2 separate regions of the Homo sapiens genome follow, and region 2 is linked to region 1. The links are contacts of gene promoters, found by promoter capture Hi-C in human tissues and cell types (Jung and others, 2019). All regions are on one chromosome and are shown on one strand. Each heading gives the region's core, a stretch centred on a gene start or on the middle of the fragment in contact. The rest is flanking DNA. Distances are from core to core; before and after follow the strand shown.

Region 1 (6,853 bases), core at 1-2,500:
GCCCAGGCCAGTGTTTCCTCAAGGTGACGGGGCTGCCCCCAGGGTCAGACCCCCTTCCCAGCAAGGCTGCCTGGCCCATGGCCGGGCGCCAGACCCTCTGGTAGAGATGGGGCCCCATTCGCTGCCTGCCCCTTCACCCCGCCCACCACTCACGTTGCCCACGTAGACGGATCTGTGGTCAGCCTCCACCTTCTCCTCGGGGGTCCCAGAGAGGGGGCAGCCTGCGGAGAACACAGCTCAGGCCCGCAGGCCCTTGGTTCCTTCCTCACTCCTCTCACGGGGAAGGTCGCCCAGGCTTATAGGGGAGGTGACACCTTGGAGCCTGCCAGGCCCAACCTTAATGGAAACTGTGGGACCCTTGCTCAGTGGGGGGCGGCCTGTGCCCTTGGTTCCTACCCACGGTCTCAGGGCTCAGCAGCTGCCCGGCCGCGGTGCCCTCCTCTTCCTCGGCCTGTTGCTGCACTCCTGGAGGCCGTGGCGTCCCCTCGGCCTGCTCCATGGCACACACCTTCATCTTGATGGCCTCCAGCTCCTGCCGACACACGGCCCTGAGCCGGGCAGGCAGCCTGCAGGCTCTGCTCAAGGAAGGTGGGTGTGTGGCCTGCCAGCTCCAGCAGAGGGTCACAGCCCCAAGGGGCAGCCCTTCTCTGGACAGGGACACTCCTTCCTGGGGCAGCTGGCTGGGGATGAACTCGCCCCTGCAGAGAAGCCCCCGAAACCGCACCTCAAGGGCCCTTCCCCAGGCGAGAGAGGCCACCTTGACCCTGCAGTCTGTGTGGCTGGGGGCGGGGGGTCTCCTTGCCACCTTCGTCCAGGCAGGTGGGCAATGGCCCTCTCCCCTCCTAAGTCAGCTGCAGCCATCCGTCACCCAGACCCCGTGTCTCCACCAGCCCCTGTGCCCCAGGTCCCCTGAGATCCCCAGGGCCTCCACACAGCTGTTACCTGGTCAGGCAATGGGCACTCAGCCAGGTTCTCTTGCTCCAGCAGAGACAGCAGAAAGCCTGCATCCCCATCCTGGTCTTCCTCTGCATCCTCTTCCTCCTCTTTCTCCTCCTTCCCTTCCCCACCCTCTGGCCCCAGAATCTCCTTGGTCTCGTTCCAGGCCCCCCAGCCCTGGGCCTCAGGGTCTGAGGAGACCGTCTGGAGCCAGGCCTGAGTCGGGGGTGGGAAGAGAGAGCGGCTCGGGAAGGGCCACATGGTAGAGGGGCAGGAGGAAGGTGGGCCAGGCGAGGCCTCCCCTCCACTCCCCTCGCGTCCGCACCTGCCCAGGCTCTCCTGGAGTTTTAAGCCCTCCCCTGAGGCCAGCTGCTCCCACTAGAGCATTTGCAAAGGCTGAGTGGGGCTGAGCTTCCAGCCTTGGCTCCCGGCCCCGCCCCTTCCCTGTCACTCGGACAGGTACCTCCAGGACACTCTCCCTGGAGGAAGGAGAGGCTGAGTTGAGTGGGGGTCACCGGTCTCTTCTGCTTCCGCCTGGCCACGCTGTGGCTCACTGGAGCCTTGGTCTGTGACAGGGTTCACACCTCAGCAGCATCCACACGGCACGAACGCCACACTGCATGAACACTCGATCTAAGTGGGAACACGGGAGTGGTTTCTTCTAGTACCAGGGACCAAGCAGGCTGGAGAGGTGGCTTCCGACCAGGAGAGGCAGGGCCTGAGCAGAGACCGAGAGCAGGTGCATGGGATGAGAGGGCCGAGGCAGGTTGGGGCGGGGTCCTGGGCCCAGAGGAGGGGCAGCAACAGCTGTCTCTGCATCCTGACCCCCATGGAGTCCCCAGGGACCCTTGCCTCCCTAACCCTTATTCTGGGCCTTTTTTTTTTTTTTCTTTTTTTTTTAGGCAGGAGTCTTGCTTTGTTGCCAAGTCTGGAGTGCGGTGGCGCGATCTCGGCTCACGGCAACCTTTGCCTCCCAGGTTCGGGTGATTCTCCTGCCTCAGCCTCCTGAGTAGCTGGGATTACAGGCACCTGCCACCATGCCCAGCTAATTTTTTTTGTCTTTTTAGTAGAGACAGGGTTTCACCATGTTGCCCAGGCTGGTCTCGAACTCCTGACCTCAGGTGATCCGCCCGACTCGGCCTCCCGAAGTGCTGGGATTACAGGCGTGAGCACCGCACCTGGTCTGGGTCATCTTTTAGGTGGGAGCCACTTCCATGAGGCCAGAATTATTCTGCTGTGGGGCGGGGGCTCCGTGGGGAGTGACGGCGTGAGTTATTGTGGGGCGGGGTCTCCGTGGGGAGTGACGGCGTGAGTTACTGTGGCGGAATTCAGTGGGCATCCGGTGGTGTCTGCACCTGGCTTCACCCATGCAGGGTTGCAGCAGGAGGTGACCCGTGTCCGCCCTTGCGCCTCCCTCTGCACCTGCCACCGCGGCTGCTGGAGTCTGCTCTGGCCTTCATCTCCAGTGCTGCCGTCTCCCACCCACTCTGTGAAGGACTCGGGGCCAGGGGGTCATGCATGGCTCTTACCCCTGCCATTGGTGGTGGGAGACGGGGCCCCCTGCACAGCTCCTACCCCCAGGCCGAGGCCATCCTCTCTGTGACTGCACCCCGGTGTTTAGCCAGTGGGGCTGGGATTCCTGGGAATTTGGGACTGGGGGAGGAGAGAGAGACAGGGCGTGGCCTAGGCTGGAGCTGCACTGCTGCACCATGCACCACCCACGCAGGGCGGCCCTTCCTCCATCTTGGGCTGGGGGCTCGGGGAGCAGGTGGACATGGAGGCTGCCACAGCCTGGGAACCCAGGCTCCTGCACCCAGTCTGTTCTCACCTCTGTAAAAGCCAGAAGGTGTCTGAGATGGGTCTCAATCAATCAGTTTAGAGGTGTATCTTGCCAAGGTTAAGGGTGCACCCAGGAAAAAGAAACACGAAGCCACAGGCAACATCTGTGCTCTGCTTTTTCCAAAGAGGGTTTGGAGGCCGGGCATGGTGGCTCACGCCTATAATCCCAGCAGTCTGGGAGGCCGAGGTGAGCGGATCACTTAAGGTCAGGAGTTCAAAACCAGCCTGGCCAACATGGTGAAACCCTGTCTCTACTAAAAATACAAAAACAATTAGCCAGGCATGGTGGCGGGCGCCTGTAATCCCAGATACTTGGGAGGCTGAGGCAGGAGAATCACTTGAACCCGGGAGGCAGAGGTTGCAGTGAGCCGAGATCGCGCCACTGCACTCCGGCCTGGGCGACGGAGTGAGACTGTCTCAAAAAACAAAAACAAAAAAACCCAAAGAGGGTTTGGAGACTTTTATACTTAAAGGGAAAGAGCGGGCAGGAGGGGAACACAGGAAGGAAAGAAAAGGGAGGGCGGATAAAAGGCAAGTGGTAGCGTTCCTTTGAATCTCTGATTGGCAGTCACCAAATGCACATTTTGAAATGTGGAAGGTGGGGGTAGAGAAGAGAATTACGTAGCCCCACGCTCAGCGACTCTGCGTTTCCACAGAAGATAAAACTGCCACAGGGAATAGGAAGCTGGCAGGTTCGCATTCGCCTCCGGTGAGCGGAGGGTAACGTTAGCTCTGTCCTTTGTCCCATACCTGGGAAGATAAGCTGCTAGATCACACTATCTGGGTGGGATCCAGCAGAACTGTTTCAGAGCCAAGATCTTGGGACCCACAAGGAATTTCCCTGTAAGCGCGATGCGAGGAGGCACAGGCTTCTTCATCTTCGTGGCTGTCCAATTAGGAAGAAAATGGGAGGCAGGTGTGTGTGATTCGGCTCCCAGCTTGACTTTTCCCTTTGGCTTAGTGCGTTTTAGGTCCCGAAATTCTGTTTTCTTTTCCCACCTCCAGGAGGCTGACTGAAGACCATGCTGTCACCCCATCTGTTCACCACCCAGAGGATTTTCTGGGGCAGGCTCATGAGGTCGGGGAGGAATGGGCCTTGTCTGGAACCTGGCTATGGCCCTGGACGCCCCTTCCCCTCTCCCTGGCTCCGCACAGCCACACACTTACGTGTGCGTGGTCCCTGGACGCTGTTCCCCCTGCGAACACGGTGCCACTGTTTCCGGGAGGGCTGCCGGGCTGCTCCTCCTCCCTCGAGAGCCGCTGTCCTCACGCCTTTCCTGCTGTCCGTCCAGTGTTGATGACTTGGCCAGCTCTCCCCTTAGAAACCAAAGCTCCTCAGGGGCAGCGCCCACATCTGCACCGAGGACAGGTACGCTGGGTGGAGTGCGGCCTCAGCCTGGGATCCTCCTGTTGGGATGGAGCCCCCTGCCCCGTGTGTCTGTGCCTGTGTGTTGGAGGGTCTGCCAGCACCCGTGCCTCCACCTCCCTGTCAGAGGCAGGATTGCAACCAGTTCCATCCAAGACCAGAGTCTGCTGGACTCGGCCCAGGCCCTGACGCATGCCCCTCTGAGCTCGGGCCCCGGCCATGGAAAACCTTGTCATCCTCACCCTGTCTGAGATTGCTGACACACAAGGCCCGGCCAGGGCTCCTGCCAGCTGCCTGGCAGGGGACAGACGGCTCCGACCCTGGCCTTTCCAGTGACACTCTTCAAATACACCCTGTTCCAGAGCCGGGCCTGAGGATTCATGGCAGCCTGGCCCCTGGGGCCCCAGCGCCCAGGACAACTCCTATTCCAGACAGGATCCGTGTGTGACCCAACACCAGGGCCCCATGGGGGTGGCTGAGAGGGGCAAGCCGTCCCTTCCTGTGCTGTCCACCCTCAGGTCCCCTGTGTCCCCTCAGTTTTCATTTCTTTTTTTTTTTTGAGATGGAGTCTCACTCTGTTGCCCAGACTGGAGTGCAGTGGCACGATCTCGGCTCACTGCAACCTCCACCTCCTGAGTTCAAGGGATTCTCCTGCCTCAGCCTCCCAAGTAGCTGAGATTACAGGCACCCGCCACCACACCCAGCTAATTTTTTGTATTTTTAGAAGAGATGGGGTTTCACCATGTTGGCCAGGCTGGTCTTGAACTCCTGACCTCAGGCAATCCACCCGCCTCGGCCTCCCAAAGTGCCGGGATGACAGGCGTGAGCCACCGTGCCTGGCCTCCCCTCAGTGTTGTCTGTGTCCCCTGAGGTCCCCTGTGTCCCCCATCGGGGTCGGAGGTGTCATGGCCCCAGCCCCAGCACTGTCTGAGGTGGGGCTGCTCAGGCAGGGGCTCCAGTCTTGGAATCCTCAGGACCATCTCCCGGGTGTAAAGTTGTTGGGACCCCCCCAAAGTCCCCTTTGCAGGCTCAGCCGTTGCCAGCCCTGCAGGGACCCTCGTGGCTGGGGCTGCTGCTCCTCCCTGCCTGTGTGCTCCCGCCCTGCCTCTTCCCCGTCGTGCTCCCGCCCTGCCTCTTCCCCGTCGCCCCAGCCCCACGTCACACACTGGCCTGTTTGTCCCTGCAGTGTGCGTGGTGCATGGGGAGGCCCCGCCCTACCAGGCACGGAGGAGCCCCAGCAGGTAATTAGTGAATTCACGGGTGAGACGAGGCTCAGCCGAAGCCTCCTGGGACCCAAGGAGAGGAACAGCCAGGCGACAGCGAACGTTCGCTTTATTACACGGACACGGCGCTAACCCGACTATTGCATCTCACAGCATCTACAGGCCAAACCCATAGTACGTCAGACGGAGCGGCGAGGGCCACCTCGCAGCCCTGCACAGCCTGCAGACCCAGGGCATGGGCTTCTCACAACTACAGAAAACAACTCAACTCCTCTGGGAGAGTCAAAAAAAAGAGGAGGAGAAAGTAGAGAGTAAGTCCCCTCCCCACCAGGCTGCACATGGCTGTGCCCCCGCCTGGTCCTCACCGGCCCGACCCCCTCGGCCCTGGCAGATGGGGTTGGGGAGCTGACAGCTGGCCTGGCGGGGCTCCCCACCCCAGCCAGGTGGGGACAAGGGAGGCCTGTTGCCGTCATTGACGTATTTCAAAAGCAGGTTTCACTCTGAGTACTGACGCTGAGTTCCCGTTCCTCTGGGTCTTTGGGAAGCTACTCCGGGGCTTGGCTGGATTGAAACATAAAGAACAGAAAGTGTCCAAAATGGAGTTTCCTAGAACTTCGGGAAAATGGAGCAGGGGTTGTCAGCAGCGCCCTGGCCTTATCTCTGAAGTGTGCACGGGAGCTGGCGGGCCTCTGGGAGGCCAGCCCCATGGACTCCCCCCTCTCCTCACTGTCTTCCTCTCCGGCCAGCACGCTCATCATCCAGGGCCCCAGCCCCATTTTGGAGAGCACCCCCTCAGTGTGGGAGCTTGCAGGGCAGTGTGGGAGGAAATAGGCCCCGGGGCTCGGGGATGCAGGGCAGGGAGGCTGCAGAGGACCCTGGGGAGCACCCATCACTCCTGGCAGAATTTATCCAGGCAGGTCTGTTCCCAGAAGTCCCCAGTCTCAGGCCGTAAGGACTCAACTCTGAGCCATCTGGGATCCCAGGAAAGGGAATGGGAGCCTGGCACCTGTGAGTACACCCCGAGGAGTGGGGCTCCAAGAGTGCTGGGGTCTCGGGGAGGCTGCATGGGGTCACCCTCCTCTCCTGGGGACACCCCCTCCAGGCATTGACCCCTGGAAACAAGGAGTGGGAGAGGGCGGCCCTGCAGCGTCGCGGCCCTGCCAGGGAATGTGCTCACCCTGGCGCCCTGGTCGGGGACCCTGGGCAGGTGTGTGGGCCGCCACCCAGTGTGTGCTCCTGGCCCCGGCCACCCACCTGGAGCTCCAGGTGGCCCCAACTGGCCAGAGCTGTTGCGAGGTACTGGTCCCACCTGCTCACAGCACCTGCAGCAGAATTTTATCTGCCCCTGCAGGTGTCTGGAGCAGTCCTGGACTGCGCTGGGTATGGAAGAGGCTGCCGCCCACCAACAGGTTCCCTTAGGGCAACAGCTGAGGTCATGGCAGGAGCAACCCTTGTCACTGGCACACGACGGGGGGCAGCTGGTGCCACT
Region 2 (6,853 bases), core at 2,377-4,876, 790 kb after region 1:
AGGCACGAGACAGATTCGTGTGCCAGCCCTGGCTCCTTGCTAGCCACAGGGCCCAGCAAATGCAGACCCTCCCTCCCTGTTTCCTTGTTGGGAACATGAGGGTGGTACCAGCCAATCTCAAAGGGTTAGTGTGAGGACAGAAGAGGTCATGGACGCAGCATCTTTTGGCCATGGTTAGAATCCAAAAGATGGTGGTTTATAATTAATGCAACTTTGCAAATGTCCCTTGGGATTCTTTCCCAATTTAAAAGTTCACCTGTAATCCCAGCACTCTGGGGGTGCCGAGGCCAGTGGATCACTTAAAGCCAGGGTTTGAGGCCAGCCTGGGCCAATTTAAAAGTTCAGTACTTGACAGTTTACTTTTTACAGACTCTTTCTCCTCAAAGGTAAATGGATAAAAATAGCAAGGTGGTAACTCTTAGACATCAAAGAGCTGATTTCCAGCGGTACAGTCGCTCACGCCTGTAATCACAGCACTCTGGGAGGCTGAGGCGGGCAGATCACTTGAGGTCAGGAGTTCCAGACCAGCCTAGGGAATATAGTCAGACCTCATCTCTATTAGAAAAATATATATTTTTTTGCCGGGTGCGGTGGCTCACGCCTGTAATCCCAGCACTTTGGGAGGCCGAGGCCGGCGGAACATGAGGTCAGGAGATCGAGACCATCCTGGCTAACACGGTAAAAGCCCGTCTCTACCAAAAAATACAAAAAATTAGCCAGGCGTGGTGGCGGGCGCCTGTAGTCCCAGCTACTCAGGAGGCTGAGGCAGGAGAATGGCGTGAACCCGGGAGGCAGAGCTTGCAGTGAGCCGAGATTGCGCCACTGCACTCCAGCCTGGGCAACAGTGCAAGACTCCGTCTCAAAAAAAAAAAGAAAAAATATTTTTTTTAAAAAGTAGGATTGATCTCAATTCATTCAACTGCTAAATTTGGAGAGCGACCCTGACCCCAGATTCCTGAAAGGGCTTTACCACACTAGCCACAACGAGGAAATGGAGCCTGTAAAAGAATGAGGTTACTGAGTGTTCACAAATGCACACCAAGGCTCCAAGATGAGATCTCCCGGGGTTCCAGAAAGCTCTGGGCATCGTTCAATCTATCGCCTGTCAGTGCAGGCGTGGTCAAGGCCAAGTTCAACCTGTCATCTATCAGTTCAGGTGTGGTCACGGCCAAGGTTATCTGTGACTGGAAAACAGCCAGCCTGACCCAGATGGCACAGTGCAGGCCAGGCGGGCCGTCCCACCCAACTCACTGTGGGATGCTGGCCAAACCGCCCTCCTCATCTCAGCTTTCCCTCACCTCAGCTTTCCCTCACCTCAGCTTTCCCTCACCTCAGCTTTCCCTCACCTCAGCTCTCCTCACCTCAGCTTTCCTCACCTCAGCTTTCCCTCACCTCAGCTTTCCTCACCTCAGCTTTCTCTTCCAGCCGTGTGTGGCAGCACAAAAACCCAGCTAAGGCAAAATCTGACTCTGAGGAAATCTGACATGGGCTTGAGAGAAGTCCCCTCAAAAGAGTTGAGTGAGCTGTGGAGTGAAAAGCCACAATTTTTCTTTTTTTTTTTTGAGACGGAGTCTCACTCTATCACCCAGGCTAGAGTGCAACGGCACCATCTTGGCTCACTGCAACCTCTGCCTCCCAGGTTTAAGCGATTCTCCTGTCTCAGCCTCCCAAGTAGTTAGAATTACACGTGCACGCCACCAGGCCCAGCTAATTTTTGTATTTTTAGAAGAGACGGGGTTTCACCATGTTGGCCAGGCTGGTCTCAAACTCCTGACCTCAGGTGATCAACCAACCTCGGCCTCCCAAAGTGTTGGGGTTACAGGCGTGAGCCACCACATCCGGCCTCCCAAAGTGCTGGAATTACAGCCGTGAGCCACCGCGCCCGGCCTCCCAGAGTGCTGGGGTTACAGGCCTGAGCCACCACACCCGGCCTGGCCAGCATATTTTTTGTGGCGGGAGGTAGATGTTATCTTTCATCTTCTCTCAGGGCAGAAAATCTCTACACATTTCCTTCATGATGATGACACGGTGGTACTATAGCTTTTCACACTTCTAACTAAAAGAATTTTTTTTGAGACGGAGTCTCGCTCTGTCGCCCAGGCTGGAGTGAAGTGGCGCGATCTCGGCTCACTGCAAGCTCCGCCTCCCGGGTTCACGCCATTCTCCTGCCTCAGCCTCCCGAGTAGCTGGGACTACAGGCACCCGCCACCACGCCTGGCTAATATTTTTGTATTTCTAGTAGAGATGGGGTTTCACTGTGTTAGCCAGGATGGTCTCGATCTCCTGACCTTGCGATCCGCCGGCCTCGGCCTCCCAAAGTGCTGGGATTACAGGCGTGAGCCACCGCGCCCAGCCCTTCAAAAAGTATTTTTAAAAGCCTGCCCATCACACCAGCCCAACGATGTTTCAGCAAACATAGGACTTCATTTTGCCAGATTCTTCCTGTTCTTTGGTATCCCTGAGCACACAGCCGGCTAGCCCCAGATGTAGAAGGTAAGAATTAGGGCGACCCATTGAGCACAGAAACGCTTGTGCTGGCTCCTGCTCAAACCTCTGCTTCCCCACATGGAGAATGGACGCAAAGAGCTGCTGTGACCAGGGCCTGGCACTCAGGGAGCGCTTTCTGTCTGAGTCCTTCTGATTTGCAGTGATGCTGTTTGGGGCAGGGGGTGCAACTGTCACTTTTTCTGGTGCCCTCTGACCCGACATTCCAAGTCCCGAAAGGCCGAACAGGCATCGCACAGTCCCCCCTACCGAGCTGGCGGGAAAGGGCGCCTGACGCTGAGGAGTGCCAGGGGCGGGGGAAAGGGTCCTGGGTCGGTGGTCGGGGGTCCAGGCCCTGGGCAAGGGGTCCTGGGTCGGGAGTCTAGGTCCCGGGTCCATGGTTGGGGGTCAGAGGTCGAGGCCCCGGGGAAGGCATACCGGGTTGAGATTTGGGGATGGAGGCCCCGGGGAAGGGGTCCCGAATCGGGGGTCGGGGATCGAGGCCTGGGGGGAGGGGTCCCGGGTCGAGGGTCGAGGCCCGGGGTAAAGGATCTCGGGTTGGGGGTCGGGGGCCTGGGAAGGGTCCCGGTCGGTGGTCGGGGGTCGAGGCCCGGGAGAAGGGGTCCCGGGTCGGTGGTAGAGGCCCTGGGGAAGGGGTTCCGGGTCGGGGATCGAGGGTCGAGGCCCGGGAAAAGGGGTCCCGGGTTGGTGGTCTAGGCCCTGGGGAAGGGGTTCCGGGTCGGGTATCGGGGGACGAGGCTCGGGAAAAGGGGTCCCAGGTCGGTGGTCGAGGCCCTGGGGATGGGGTCCGGGTCGGGGATCGGGGGACGACGACCGGGAAAAGGGGTCCCAGGTCGGTGGTCGAGGCCCTGGGGATGGGGTCCCGGGGGATCGACGGTCGAGGCCCGAGCTCTCCTGAGTCCTGCCCGCGGCCCCAGGTGGGCGGAGCCCACGCCAGTGGGAGAAGCGGCCCCGCCCCGCGCGCGAGTCCCCGGAGGACGGCCGCGACCTCTTACCGTCCATGGCCACAATGACAGGAGCAGCACTCGGAGAGGGAGAAGGGACGCCAACTCCGGGCGGTGTCAGGTCCCGGCGGCGATCGAACCGACCAAGCTGCACCCGGCGGGGACTTCCGGGGTCGCCGCCCCACTTCCGGTCGCACGGGATGCTCTCGCGAGAGGATGGTGGCCGGTCCCGCCAGAGGGGCGGGGCGCGGCTGCGCGGCGCGCGGTCGCCATGGTGACGCACGCCGCTGGCGCGAGGACCTTTTGTGAGTCGCTCCCGGCTCCGCGGCCGCGGAGGTGTGGGGACCCGGGCTTGCGTCGGAGGGGGCGGTGGGCTCACCCATGGGCCTTTCCAAAAGCAAAGAGAAACCCAGGAAAGGTAAAGGAGGCGCAGGCGCTGGGCTCCCCGCGTCTCCGCCCCTGGGCGCGGGCCCAGGGCGGGGCTGGGCTGGGCGGGGCGGTGTGAGCGCAGGCGCCAGGCTCGGCCCGGTGCGAACCGTTCCTGCCGCCGAGTCCGCCACGGACGGCGCGTTTCCCGCCTGAGGCGGTTACGGAAACGCGGAGACTCGAGACTTGAAGCCAGCTTATTCTGGACCCACGCAGGCGACTGAAGACGATGGGACCCACTGCCCTGCATTCGGTAAGTCCCGGGTCTAACGGATGATCCATATATTTCAGGTGAGGAGCAAAAGAAGGGATCCACCTATTCAGTTCCAAAATCTAAGGAGAAGTTGATGGAGAAGCATTCCCAGGAAGCCAGGCAGGCAGACAGGGAGTCGGAGAAGCCTGTGGACAGCCTCCACCCGGGGGCCGGGACAGCCAAGCACCCGCCGCCGGCAGCTTCGCTGGAAGGTAGGAGACGGCGGGAGGGAGCGAAGCGAGGTCAGTGGCTTGGAGGATCTGGGGCTGGGGTGAGGAGCCTACTGTAAGACCCTACCGGATGGACACTAGTAGCAGGCACGCGCCGTAAAGATGAAACTGGTTTGTTTTGGGAACTTTATGTAGGAGGTAAATATCCAGAAATCTTAGTTGAAAACATAAGTTTAATGAAAATGTAGGTCAGTTCCCGAGTGATAAGTGCGTACCAGGTGGTCGAGGGGCTGGGGCAGTGTGCGTGTGTCTCACCTGAGGTTCTCCTCGAGGGCTGGGTATCTTGGTGCCACTGAGAATCCCTGAGCCTCCGCACACTGGAACAGAGCATTGGGAGGCCGTCCCAGGCTGGACTGTAGCTCTCCGAGGGCTGTGGGGATAAGTACATTGCGGAGGGTGACCGAGGAGTAGAACCTGGGTGCGACAAAGGTGTCTTTTATAACAGCCTAGTGTGGCCAGACCTTTGGGTGTGTGTGGGGAAGATGAGGCCCCAAAAGTAGGAAGAAGCTAGAATACAAAGTTTTCCATCAGTTTTACCACGTGGAGCTGGAAGCGTTAAATATTTTAAACAACGGAGGTGCTGCCTGGGGCGGTAGTTCACACCTGTCCTCCCAGTTATTTGGCCGAGGCAGGAGGATCTTTTGAGCCCAGGAGTTCAAGACCAGCTTGGGCAACATAGTGAGACCCTGTCTCTACAAAAAATAAATATTTAAAAATAAAAAACAAGGGCGGCATGATGAGGTCTGTGCCTACCAACAGGGGAAGCCAGTTCGCAGGGGAGGTGGCCCGGTCAGAGACCCATTGCTGTGGCCCAGTGGGAGCCAGCAAGGCCTTGCAGTAGGAATTGCAGAAGGGTCAGGCAGGGAGAACCCGCAGAGCCTGCCGTCCGAGGAGATTGGGGGCCTGTGCCAGGAGGAGGTGTTTTAAGTTTCATCACAAGAATGAACCACTCGGCTGGGCGCAGTGGCTCACGCCTGTAATCCCAGCACTTTGGGAGGCCGAGGCGTGTGGATCACTTAAGGTCAGGAGTTCAAGACCAGCCTGGCCAACGTGGTGAAACCCTGTCTCTACTAAAAATACAAAAATTAGCTGGGCGTGGTGGCATGTGCCTGTAATCCCAGCTACTCAGGAGGCTGAGGCAGGAGAATTGCTCGAACCTTGAACCGGGACCCGGGAGGCAGAAGTAGTGGTGAGCGAGATCGCACCACTGCACTCCAGCCTGGGCTACAGAGTGAGACTCTGTCTCAGAAAAAAAAAAAAATAATAAGGAGAGAACCACTCGGGTCAGACAAGAAAGAATGTCAGGGGGATGACTGGCCTGCTAGGCAGAGGAGCTGGGCCTGGACTGCTTCACACTGACACGCTTGTAGGATCAAGGGCTGAAAGTAGGAGGCTCTGGGCCTTGGACTTGGAAGAAAGACTTGGATTTGAATTCCCAACTTTGGAACCTCCCACTGGAGGGTGGAACCCCTCACAGGAGGGCGCAACCCCCCACCGGAGGATGGAACCCTGCAGGAATAGCATCACCCTTGGGTGGCAGTTTGGAAAATGCTACCTGTCTGTCACGGTGCTTTTAGCTGAAAGTTACAGAAAAGCTCACTAAACGCAGCTTTAACACAGGGATTTAATGTCTCACGAATGAAGGGTCAGAGGTGGAGCTTCCAGGTTGGCTTGTTAGCACAACAGTGACATCAAAGACTTTGCGTGTCTCTTCTTGACCACTCTCAGTGTCCACAGCCCCCGATGAGTGTACAGCCCCCCACACGCAGGCAGGACTGCATCTACTGCAAAGGCATTGCTCCTTGCTTCATATTAGCAAGGAAACCTTTCCCAGGAAGGCTTCGCCTGCCCAGCCTCTGCAGGACTCATTCAATGGTGCAAATTCACCAGGGGCTGGAGGGAGCTGTGAAGCATGGGAGTGGGCAGGACCTCTGCCAGTAACGGAAGTGGGGGAAGGAGGACCGCCTGTTGGAAGGGCCCCAGCAGTGTCTGTCACACCAGAGGGTGGGGGAGGAAGGTGGACATGAAGGGAAAACAGCAGAGCAAGAGTGAGAACAGAGTTTCAGCAGATAAAATGAAGTGTGCACGCTCTCCATGCAGTGACGGGCTGAGCGACAGTGAGGAGCAGGCTGCTGACTCCCTTGCCACACCGTGAAGGAGTCCCAAAGGTGGGACACTGAGTGAGACAAGCCAGAGGAAAGACCACTCATGTTGCAGTTCCCTTTCCATGGAATGTCCAGAAAAGGCACATTTACAGAGAGAAGCAGATGAGTGGTTGCTGGGCAGAAATGGGAGCCGGCCACAGCTGAGCACAAGAGGACTTTGGAGGGTGATGGAAATGGTTTTCGACCTGAATCTGAACATGGGAAGCACTGCAGTTTAGTAGTCCTGGTCCCTAAGCCCTTCCAGCCCAGGAGCCAGACCTGTGAGCAAACAAGCCTTTAGTGATTCCAGGCTCTGGCTGGAACCTTGAGTCTTCTCAGCTTGGGGCATGC

Evidence for each region. Contacts are between HindIII fragments. The study calls those that stand out against the background at their distance.
Region 2: the fragment with the promoter of CHMP1A here is called in contact with the fragment with the promoter of PABPN1L in region 1 in 1 of the 25 tissues and cell types used here (lymphoblastoid cells).

What each region holds. Positions count from the first base shown.
Region 1 is chr16:88,865,410-88,872,262 of GRCh38, forward strand. PABPN1L (PABPN1 like, cytoplasmic) reads right to left here and starts at 1,251. Exons shown (of 7, transcript NM_001080487.4): 1 at 943-1,251; 2 at 397-532; 3 at 154-221. The coding sequence starts at 1,197. RefSeq lists an enhancer at 5,819-5,958. The HindIII fragment of the contact is 11,880 bases long and covers 1-6,853 here.
Region 2 is chr16:89,654,082-89,660,934 of GRCh38, forward strand. CHMP1A (charged multivesicular body protein 1A) reads right to left here and starts at 3,627. Exons shown (of 7, transcript NM_002768.5): 1 at 3,501-3,627. The coding sequence starts at 3,507. SPATA33 (spermatogenesis associated 33) reads left to right here and starts at 3,755. Exons shown (of 3, transcript NM_001271907.2): 1 at 3,755-3,867; 2 at 4,167-4,340. The coding sequence starts at 3,831. RefSeq lists silencers at 3,354-3,413, 3,634-4,023 and an enhancer at 3,739-3,908. The HindIII fragment of the contact is 33,607 bases long and covers 1-6,853 here.